3 separate regions of the Homo sapiens genome follow, and regions 1 and 3 are each linked to region 2. Evidence: promoter capture Hi-C in 16 types of primary human blood cells and fetal thymus (Javierre and others, 2016). All regions are on one chromosome and are shown on one strand. Each heading gives the region's core, a stretch centred on a gene start or on the middle of the fragment in contact. The rest is flanking DNA. Distances are from core to core; before and after follow the strand shown. Region 1 overlaps FBXL17 (F-box and leucine rich repeat protein 17). Region 2 holds the start of SRP19 (signal recognition particle 19). Region 3 holds the start of MAN2A1 (mannosidase alpha class 2A member 1).

Region 1 (2,989 bases), core at 285-2,784, 4.5 Mb after region 2:
ATGAATCCTTTTGCATTTATCCTGCTTGGAATTCATTGAGTTTATGAGCTAGATTCATGCCTTTCATCAGATTTGGAAAGTTTTAGCCATTATTTCTTCAAATATTTAGGCCTCTTTCACTCTCTTTTCCTTCTGTGCCTCCAATTATATGTATATTAGTATGTTTGGTGGGGTTCCACATGTATGTTCATTTTCCTTCAGTCCACAGACTCAGTAATTTTAATTTACCTATCTTTAGGTTTGCTGATTCTTTCTTCTTGTAGAGGTTCAAGGGATTTTGATGTTTCTCAAGAAAGAGATATGATTATAAGAAGTGGTAACACACAACAAGCTTCATTTGGTGGCACTTGGACAGGATTATATGAGAGGAAACTTCTTTTACAGCATGAAGCTGTGCAGAGGCTTACAGCGAGGTAGACTGCCATACAGAAGGGGAGGAGGGCAAGGCAACCCCTGGGGAACAGGAGAATTGGAGAGCAGGCTTACCTGTCTAGGTGATGTCACTCAGCAGCATGATGGGATGTGTAAAAATTTGAGTTTGGTACTAGTGGGCTCTTGAGCTAATGAGTCTCGTCCTGCAGTGAAGAAATAACCTAGGAACCAATACACAGAGGTCATCTTTGGCTTATTTATATAACACTTCCACTTGCTCTAATCTGTTTAATCTCTGTAGTGAATTTTAAAATGTCATTACTGTATAATTTAGTTCTATAATTCTTATTTGATTTATTTTCATAATTTCTACTTTTTATTAATATTCTCTATTTGGTGAGACATTTCTATTTGGTTCTCATAATTTCCTTTAGTTCTTTGTCCACGGTTTTCTTTAGCTCTGTGAGCATGTCTTAAATTGTTGATTTATTGTCTTTGTCTAGTAAGTCCAATGTCTGGGTTTTCTCATGGGCAGTTTCTTTTCATTTCCTTTTTTCTTGTGAATGGGCCAGCAAACTGTAGCCCTTCACAGGCCAAATCCACTGCCAGTTTTTGTAAATCGTGTTTTATTGGCACATAGTTGTATACATTCATTTATGTTTTGTGTGCCAATAAAACTTTATTTGGTTATCTGGCTAGAAAGATGGAGTTTCTCTCAGAGATACAGCCACCTGTGCTGCTGTGTAGTTTTGCATGACTGGGGCTGCTTTTATGATAAAATTAAGAAACAGTAGTGGGAATTCTTTGTTTACTTGTTGGACCACAGAGTTCTCTTCCCCAATTCTTCTGACCAGAATGGTGGGTTTACTTTTGGGGTCTATATTGCAGCTCTGCTACTGACGTAGCATTTGGGACATAGCCAGTAGGGAGAAAAGAGAAAAGGGGAAGAAAGGAAAACCAAAAATCAAGTCTTCTCACATTCTCTGTCTTGCAGAGGCCCATTTTCCTGGTCCTTTGTCCAGAAAGATAGCTTTTTCTCTGAATTTTTGTTGATTTTTACCTCCTGTGCATTTCTGTACAGGGACCACCCTGAATTCCATACTAGGGGATTAAAGAAAAAAAAACCCAGGAAACTCATCTTTGTTATTGGCCATTCTTCAAATTTTGGCACCCTTCCACAATTCATTTGTTACTAACTTTTTAGAGTTTTGAGGCAATTGCTTTTAATATATTGTCCAGATATTTTAGTTGTAATGCCTGCAAGTAAAAGGCTGTAGTGGGCTTAATACATGTTTGCTGGCATGGGAGACAAATTCGCTAGTGACTTTCATGATTTTTTTTTTTTTTTTCCGAGAAGGAGTCTTGCTCTGTTGCACGGGCTGGAGTGCAGTGGTGCAATCTTGGCTTACTGCAACCTTCGCCTTCCAGGTTCAAATGATTCTCCTGCCTCAGCCTCCTGAGTAACTGGGACTACAGGCATGCGCCACCATGTCTGTCTAATTTTTGTATTTTTAGTAGAGATGGGATTTCACCATATTGGCCAGGCTGGTCTTGTACTCGTGACCTCATGATCCACCTGCCTCGGCCTCCCAAAGTGTTGGGATTACAGGCATGAGCCACCATGCCCTGCCACTTTTATGATATTCTATACTTCTCACTAGACTTGTTGGAGGAAAAACTGGTTGTGAAGGTAACAGGCAGTTGTTTTCCCGAGGCCCAAGATTTAAACATAGTAGAGATTCTAGCTTATATGTTTACAACTTTTGTCCATATAGAGGTAAGTCATTTTAGGTAATAATTATAATTGAAATCATGTATTACAACAAATCCTTGACTAATAGCCTTTAGTTCAACATCATTGTGTTATAATGTTAATGAGAAAAAAAACAAAACAAAACAATTCGTAGCTGGGCCCACTGTCTATGTAGAGTTTGCATGTTCTCCCCATGCCTGCACATATTTTCTCTGGGTATTCTGGTTTCCTCCCACATCCCAAAGCTGTGTACATTAGGTTTTGTATAAGGTGTGCATGTGTCTAGATGGTCCCGGTATGAGTGAGTGTACATGTGCCCTGTGGTGCATTGGTGTCCTGTCCATTGCTGGTTCCTACCTTGTGCCCTGACCTCTGGTCACCTGCAACCCTGAACTGGAATAACTGGGTAAATAATTATCTTACTTGTTTTTATTAATCTTTCTTAAATGTATAGGTCACATTTGTTTCAGTGTTTAATCTTATTTAATAATTCCTTTAAATTAATATCTTTTATATTCAGTTTTATTTGATTGTCTGAAAAGTATCTTCTTAGAATTGGTTCAATTCTGGATCTCAGTGTGGCCCACACATGGTATTTGTTGATAAAGCTTTTAATTTTCCAAGATTTGTATTGGCCTTCATCCTGACCCTAACCATCTTTTTATGATGTAACTTTTAAAAATTATTTTTTAGAATAGATTTTATTTTGGAATAATTTTATTTTTATATTATATATTTAAAATATATGGTGTTTTGACATGGAATACATTCAGATTTATAGAAAAATTGCAATGATAGTACAGAGATTTCCCCTATATTCGTTATCCAGTGTTGACGAAAGCAGTCAAACTCTGTAAAATATTT
Region 2 (3,213 bases), core at 702-3,201:
AAAGCAGCAAAAGTAATCTATGGTGTTGAAGTCATAACGGTGGTCATCCTGGTATTTTTGAGCATATGCGGAGGCGACAGTGACTGAGAGGGAACATAAAGCAATCTTCCTGGATGCTTGTAGTGTTTTCTTTTTTGAGTGCTTGTTACCACCCAGATGTACTCATCATGGGAGAATTCACTGCATCAAACCTAGGTGTCTTAAATCTGTCATATTACAAAATACAAATGACACTTTAATAAAACTCAACAGGGCTGAACTTTCTGCATGTCTTCTTCACACACTTAAAAAAATCTCAACTACATTCTGAACATTATTAATGTATCGTACAATGTCATAATTTTGATTTCCTATATCAAGGGAAACACCGTCATAACCTTTGTTTTAAAAACATGTGAACTCTACACTCTGCCCCCACTCCTTTACAAACAAAGGCTCATTAAGAGACGTTAAAAAAATATCCCTTCAGCTATGAATTAATGCCTTTCTGGTTTCACCAACACTGAGGAACGCACCCCAATTCTTGGCTGTGTTCTCAAGCCCTAAATAAATGCAGTGAAGAGAACCCCCTGCGGCTCTAACAAGATTACGTGGCCCGACCAGGATGACACCCCCCATTCCCTCGAGGATCAAGGTGCCAGCCATCTTGCTTACCTTACTTATGGGGATTCGCCTTCCCTCTGCGATGGTCTTCTTATTATTTAAATAAGCAGGATAGATACAAATAAACCTGCCATAGACAATAGCATAAGTGGTATCACTAGAGCAGTAAGAGGCAGGAGAAAAGGGTCGGGTGGCAGGGAACCAAAGGCCAATTCATGCTGCCTAGATATCAGATGGGTACTCCCTTTTCAACCCCTCCTTTTTCTGCGTGGCAGTTGAAAAATCAAAGTACCTCGGAGTGGTCCCCTCGAGCAACTAATCAGACTGGCCGCGGGCCTACTCCTCTTTCTGATTGATCCCCCTCCCTCAACCAATCAGACTGGCACAGGTCAATGGGAAACGTCTAGAGGGTATTTAAACCCTAGAAAATTCTGTAACCAACAGCTCTTGGGTAGCTTGCTGGAGCCGGCTCCCACCCTGTGGAGTGTACTTTTGTTTAAAATAAATCTGCTTTCGCTGCCTTGCTTTGTGTGTTTTGTTCAATTCCTTATTCAAAACGCCAAGAACCTGGACAACTACACTCAACAGATAACAAGTATTTTCAAAAATACATTCTTTCGGTCCGTGGTAGTCGTCATCATTGCTGGTACACCTATGCTATTATTTGCTTAATGTTATTTCTTTAAATTACCTCACTTTAACTTATTTAAAAATAAACTTTATCCACTACCTTGGATGGAAAAAAACCACAGGAATAGAAACAAAACGACTTGGGTAACTGTTACATTAGACAGAGCAGCCCGTCAAAAGTTCCTGAGAATGGGCCCGCCCTCTTATATAAAGTGTCCGAGGTATTAAAAACCTTAAAATTTCACAAATGAGCCTTTCTGAACGCAACAATACTTAAAAAGAACACATTTCTCACACTGTGATTATATTACTTGATATCATGTCCACGTAGCACCCAAAATCCTTGTCTCGCGTACAGATAAACACTAGGCTACCTATGGTCGGAATTTCAGGAGCCCTGAGAAGAGCCTGGTGGCTGCTGCAGGATTCAGAAAAACGAGCTGCCAGGGAGAGGCGCGGGGCCCGTACAGAGCGAGTTGGATCAGCTAGGCCATTCTGGAGGCCGCGGAGCGGAGAAGCGCGGTGTAGCACCTGCAGCACCACAGCAAGCCCCTTCCTTTCGGAGGACCCACCGCCTCAGAACCCACCTGTCCTGGTCGGCCGGGGACCGCGCGGCAGCGCAAGCCATCTTCACAAGAGTCTCAACAACCCAGGAGCCGCAGGGAGAAACCCGGCAGAAACCCGGGAGGAACCCGGCTCTGAGTTTCCGAGACAGCCCGCTTTTCCGCCGGAAGTCCTGCCCAAGAAATGGTTCCGCGTCCGCGATTTCTCATCGCCTGTTTGTTCCGGCACCTGTCGCTCGGCGCCAGGATCTCTAGTCTCTGACGTGGCATGAAGACTTCCCTTCTCGCGAGAGAATCATGAAAGCTTCTCATTCCTTTCCCAAGCCGGGAAGACCATGTGGGGCGCATGCACCGCCACTAAAAAGGGTTTAACTTCGACCCTCCCTCGTTTCCAGTTTCTCAGCGAGTATGGGTGGTACTAGCTACTCTCTGTTAAGGGGCGAAGACTGTGCCACGAGGGGAATCTGTGTGGTTCAGGATGCAAATATATGTTAGACAGGGAAGGAAATACTCCTTACGTTTAATTTTTCTCCGTTCCTGGGCTCTAGAGCTTGCTTTCAGTTTGGCAAAATGGATTTTTGTAGTGGTAGAACTAGCAAAGTTATAGACGTTGTGTTTCAGTGTGCTCTGCGTTAGAAACTTAGCTATTCACCTTTTAGGCCGGGTGCGGTGGCTCACGCCTGTATCCCAGCACTTTGGGAGACTGAGGCAGGTGGATCATGAGGTCAGGAGTTGGAGAGCAGCCTGGCCAACATGCTGAAACCCCGTCTGTACTAAAAATACAAAAATTAGCCGAGTGTGGTGGCACACGCCTGTAATCCCAGCTACTCGGAGGCTGAGACAGGAGAATCACTTGAACCCAGGAGGTGGAGGTTGCAGTGAGCTGAGATCACACCACTGCACTCCAGCCTGCGTAACAGAGCAAGACTCCGTCTAGGAAAAACGAAACAAAACTATTCACCTTTTAAAACTTCTGAAGGATACCATGTGCCATCACTACAGGCATACTTCATTATTGCACTTCACTTGCTGCTGCGAGTAGATACTGCCTTTTTACAAATGGAAGGTTTTTGGCAAATCCGCCTGAAAGAAGTTGCTTGGTGCCATTTTTCCAGCAGCGTATACTTTGTGTCACATTTGGTAATTTTTGCAATATTTCAAACCTTTTCATTATTTCTGTTATGGTGATCGGTGATCAGTGATGTTTGCTGTTACTATTGTAATAGTTTTAAGGCCGGGTGCGGTGGCTCACGCCTGTAATCCCAGCACTTTGGGAGGCCGAGGCAGGTGGATCACGAGGTCAGGAGATAGACACCATCTTGGCCAACATGGTGAAACCCCATCTCTACTAAAATATAAAAAATAAGCCAGGCATGGTGGCACAGGCCTTTAGTCCCAGCTACTCGGGAGGCAGGGG
Region 3 (3,131 bases), core at 1-2,500, 3.2 Mb after region 2:
GCGCTTCCCCACTCGGTTCCCCCTGTCTGCCACAAACAAACCAGATGTAATAGCTGAAGAATGACGACACTAAAATCAACCTAGAGATTCACATCTAAAAGGGCCGCAACACGAAATAAACTTCTCTCTCTTCAGAGGCAGCGGGGAAGAAAAAGAAAAAAAAGCCTAGGTGGGTTCGGTTTGATCCATTTCCGCGACTCCGTGCGCTCAGGGGCTCTGGGCTGGTGCGGGCGGCTTAACCCTGTGAGAGCCGAGAACGACCCCACCGGGATACGCGGGCCCCGGGCTGGCGGGGGGTGCCTCACGCCGCGCCCGTTCCCCCGCCAGCAGGTGCCCGAAGCCACCCCAACAGGCCGGGTGCGAATGCCGGAACATGGCCACTTTCCTGAGCGGGATGATGCCGCCGCCGCCGCCGCACGCCGCCCAGCACTTTGTTAACTTGGCGCGCCCGGGCGAGGTGGCTCCCAGGAGGTGATCATTGCCGTCCGAGAGCTACAGAGCCCCTGGCCTCGCCCAGCACGGGTGTGGGGCCGCGGCGGGAGGAAGAGGTTGGGTAGCAGCCGCTAACCAGGGGCCCGCACGCCTGGCCCCTCGGAGCCCCGCGCCCCCTTCCCAGGTGCTTACCTGAGGGAAGGAGCCCTCGCGGCGCGGGTTCCTGGGGTAGTCTAAGTGACCCCGGTCCAGCATCAGGTAGAGCGAGAAAATCACCACACAGAAGATCGCACTGCCGAACACGGTGAACTGGCGGCTTAACTTCATTTTCCTCGATAGACTCGGGGCCAGGACACTCTCCTCAGCCAAAGGAGACAGCGCACTGTGGACTCTAGGAAGCAGCCGCCGGAGGCTCCCTTCTCCCGGGCTGCGCGACCTCCGCGCTCTCGGATGCGGGTGCGAGTCCCCGCCTTGCTCCGCACCTAGTCTCCGGCGCCACCACACGCCCTTGGCCTTCGCCCTGGCCTGCCGCCCTCCCCGGGGTCGGGCGCCCCTCTCGAGGCGAGACTCGCCGGCAACTGGGAAGGGGGGCCCCCACAAACTTGATCGCAAGCTCAGCGCCGACCTCCGGCAGGGCGCGCGGGGCAGGCGGAGGAGAGGTCGCTGCCCGCACTTCCTGCCACCGCCGCCCCAACTGAGTCGGCAGGAAAAGTTTTCTCGACGAGGGCAGGCGTGTCCTCCTCACCCAGGGGAGGCGCGGGTTCGGCAGCTCCCGGGCCGGGGCCGCGCAGCTAGGTCAGAGAAGCGGAGGGGAAAGGAACAAGATCGCGAGGAGCCAAGCCCTACAACTTCTGGGCGGGACGGTCGGGCCCGCCCCCGCGGCACCGGCACCGCCCCCGCCTACCCCGACTGAGCCCCTTCGTGCTGCTGCCGCCGCCGCCGCCGACGCTGCGGCTGGGCCGATGTGCACCCCGGACTCCGGGGCTCACGGATTGATGAGTTTCCTCAGAGCTAGCGTCCGCTCGCCAGACTCTCCCGCCCCCCGCCGCCCCTACCTTCCCCCTCCCGGACCCAGGCTCCGCGGGGAGGCGCAGGGGGCGGGCGGCGGCAACGCGGAAAGAAGGAAAAGGAGAGCAGGGAGGAAAGGACCGTCCCCGGAGAGAAGCCCGCTCCAGCTGCAGCCGCTAGCCCCCTCCCTCTTTCCCGCCCCACAAACGCGGAGATGGCGGCGGAAGCGGCGAAAGGAAGCGCCGGTTCTCCAGCGCCACTTGGCGCTCCAGCACCGCCCGCCACGAGCAGGAGGAGACAGCGGCGGCGCAGCAGCCGCTGGGTCAATAGGCGCCCGCAGCGCCTGAGCCGAGCGGGCGGCTGGCCCCGCCCCCTCCCGACGCTCCGAGATGAGGGGGCGGGCCCCACGGCGCCCAATCACAGCGCGTCGCCCGGCGGACCCGCCCCGCGCCTGCCTCCCAGTGTCCCGGCGATAGGAAGACCTCACAGGGCTCTTGTGACCTGGCAGGCAGCTTTCTGGGAGTTGAGGCCTTCGGGGGCGTTCAGGCGCCAGCACCCCCACGTCCAACAGGGGTTGAGCTTACACCCCACTTCCCTTTGTTGCTCAGGTTTCCTATCCTAGGACACTCGGGCCTGGCGTGCCTGGAAGAGTACTTGGTGACGGGCTGGAGGAAATGCAAGAGAAGAGGGCTTGCACATTCTCTTCGGGCTCACTATTTCCTCCTTTGGTGACAGCCTGTTAAAACCTGGGGGAAAGGAGACTGACAAAGGGCCGTCCAGGCACATGTAGAAACATCTGACTACGAAATCCATGAGTGTAATCTGAGAAGTGATGCTTCTGCCAGTTATTGATTTATTGCCTCTCAGCTCCAAATTCGCCCTTTTTGACTGCACTGTAAAAACGGATCTGAGCCTTTTAAACAGTTTTTCGTTTGCCTTCTGGGACTGAAGCTTTATCAGCAGAGGGCGCTGAAGAGACATTACAGAAAAAAAGGATTTTGCTTCCTGATTTCTGTGTATTGATAAGCTTTTGCAGCATACCTGGCTTTCTCCACTGCCAAGGTCCTATAGTGCTCAGTAACTAGCAATTTCCTCTCACATGCCCAACTCTAGGAGCTTTGTAGAGGAGGTGAGACACTACCCCATGAATAACTTCCCTGGCACCCTAGAGGCATTTGCAGCAAGTTGCAGAGGGCACATCTTCCACAAGCTTTGCAGACGTAGCCCAATGGTGACTTCTCTGCCATTCAGTGAGCCAGGTCATGCCCTCTCCAAAAACGTCTAGATCTTAGCCCTGGGAGGAATTGGGGAGGTTCTTCATTGGGCACTCTGTCTCTCAACCCAAGAGTTAGTTATAAGGTTAGCTCCTTATAGCTGCTGTTGCTATATTCTTTAAAGTTCTCTTCTTGCTAGTGAATCCTTCATTACTCTAATCCTCTATTATAGTTAACAATTCTTTTTATTAAGCCTTCCCTGTCCCGGGAGTAGTCCCAAGAAATAGACCTGCAAAGATGGGATTAAAGGTCAGTTTGATTGAGGTTTTGAGCTTTAGCTCCTTGCCAAAGGGAAATGTAATTCATGACATGCTGGGCATCTCAATTAAGCAATTACCTGTGGTTGATCCTGATGAAGTGCCAACTGAAGCCTGTGCCTTGGGGCCCCAAGTGGCTGCTACACTTGACTGCTATGGT

The links. The method cuts DNA at HindIII sites, captures the fragments that hold promoters and counts their contacts. A CHiCAGO score of 5 or more calls a contact.
Region 1: a fragment that was not itself captured here is called in contact with the fragment with the promoter of SRP19 in region 2 in 1 of 17 cell types (non-activated CD4 T cells); the score reaches 5.4 in non-activated CD4 T cells.
Region 3: the fragment with the promoter of MAN2A1 here is called in contact with the fragment with the promoter of SRP19 in region 2 in 1 of 17 cell types (fetal thymus); the score reaches 6.9 in fetal thymus.

What each region holds. Positions count from the first base shown.
Region 1 is chr5:108,369,477-108,372,465 of GRCh38, reverse strand. All of the region lies in intron 1 of FBXL17 (F-box and leucine rich repeat protein 17), which reads left to right. Among named protein-coding and RNA genes, the nearest start is that of FBXL17, 11 kb to the left of the region's middle. The HindIII fragment of the contact is 2,402 bases long and covers 334-2,735 here.
Region 2 is chr5:112,860,025-112,863,237 of GRCh38, reverse strand. It overlaps SRP19 (signal recognition particle 19), which reads right to left and starts at 1,951. Exons shown (of 5, transcript NM_003135.3): 1 at 1,821-1,951; 2 at 655-730. The coding sequence starts at 1,861. RefSeq lists enhancers at 1,654-1,953, 2,054-2,133, 1,892-2,186. The HindIII fragment of the contact is 2,166 bases long and covers 1-2,102 here.
Region 3 is chr5:109,688,046-109,691,176 of GRCh38, reverse strand. MAN2A1 (mannosidase alpha class 2A member 1) reads right to left here and starts at 1,250. Exons shown (of 22, transcript NM_002372.4): 1 at 625-1,250. The coding sequence starts at 759. It overlaps MAN2A1-DT (MAN2A1 divergent transcript), which reads left to right and starts at 78. Exons shown (of 1, transcript NR_186543.1): 1 at 78-3,131. RefSeq lists silencers at 387-486, 897-1,106, 1,137-1,656, 1,667-1,956 and enhancers at 2,067-2,166, 1,926-2,594. The HindIII fragment of the contact is 3,132 bases long and covers 1-2,393 here.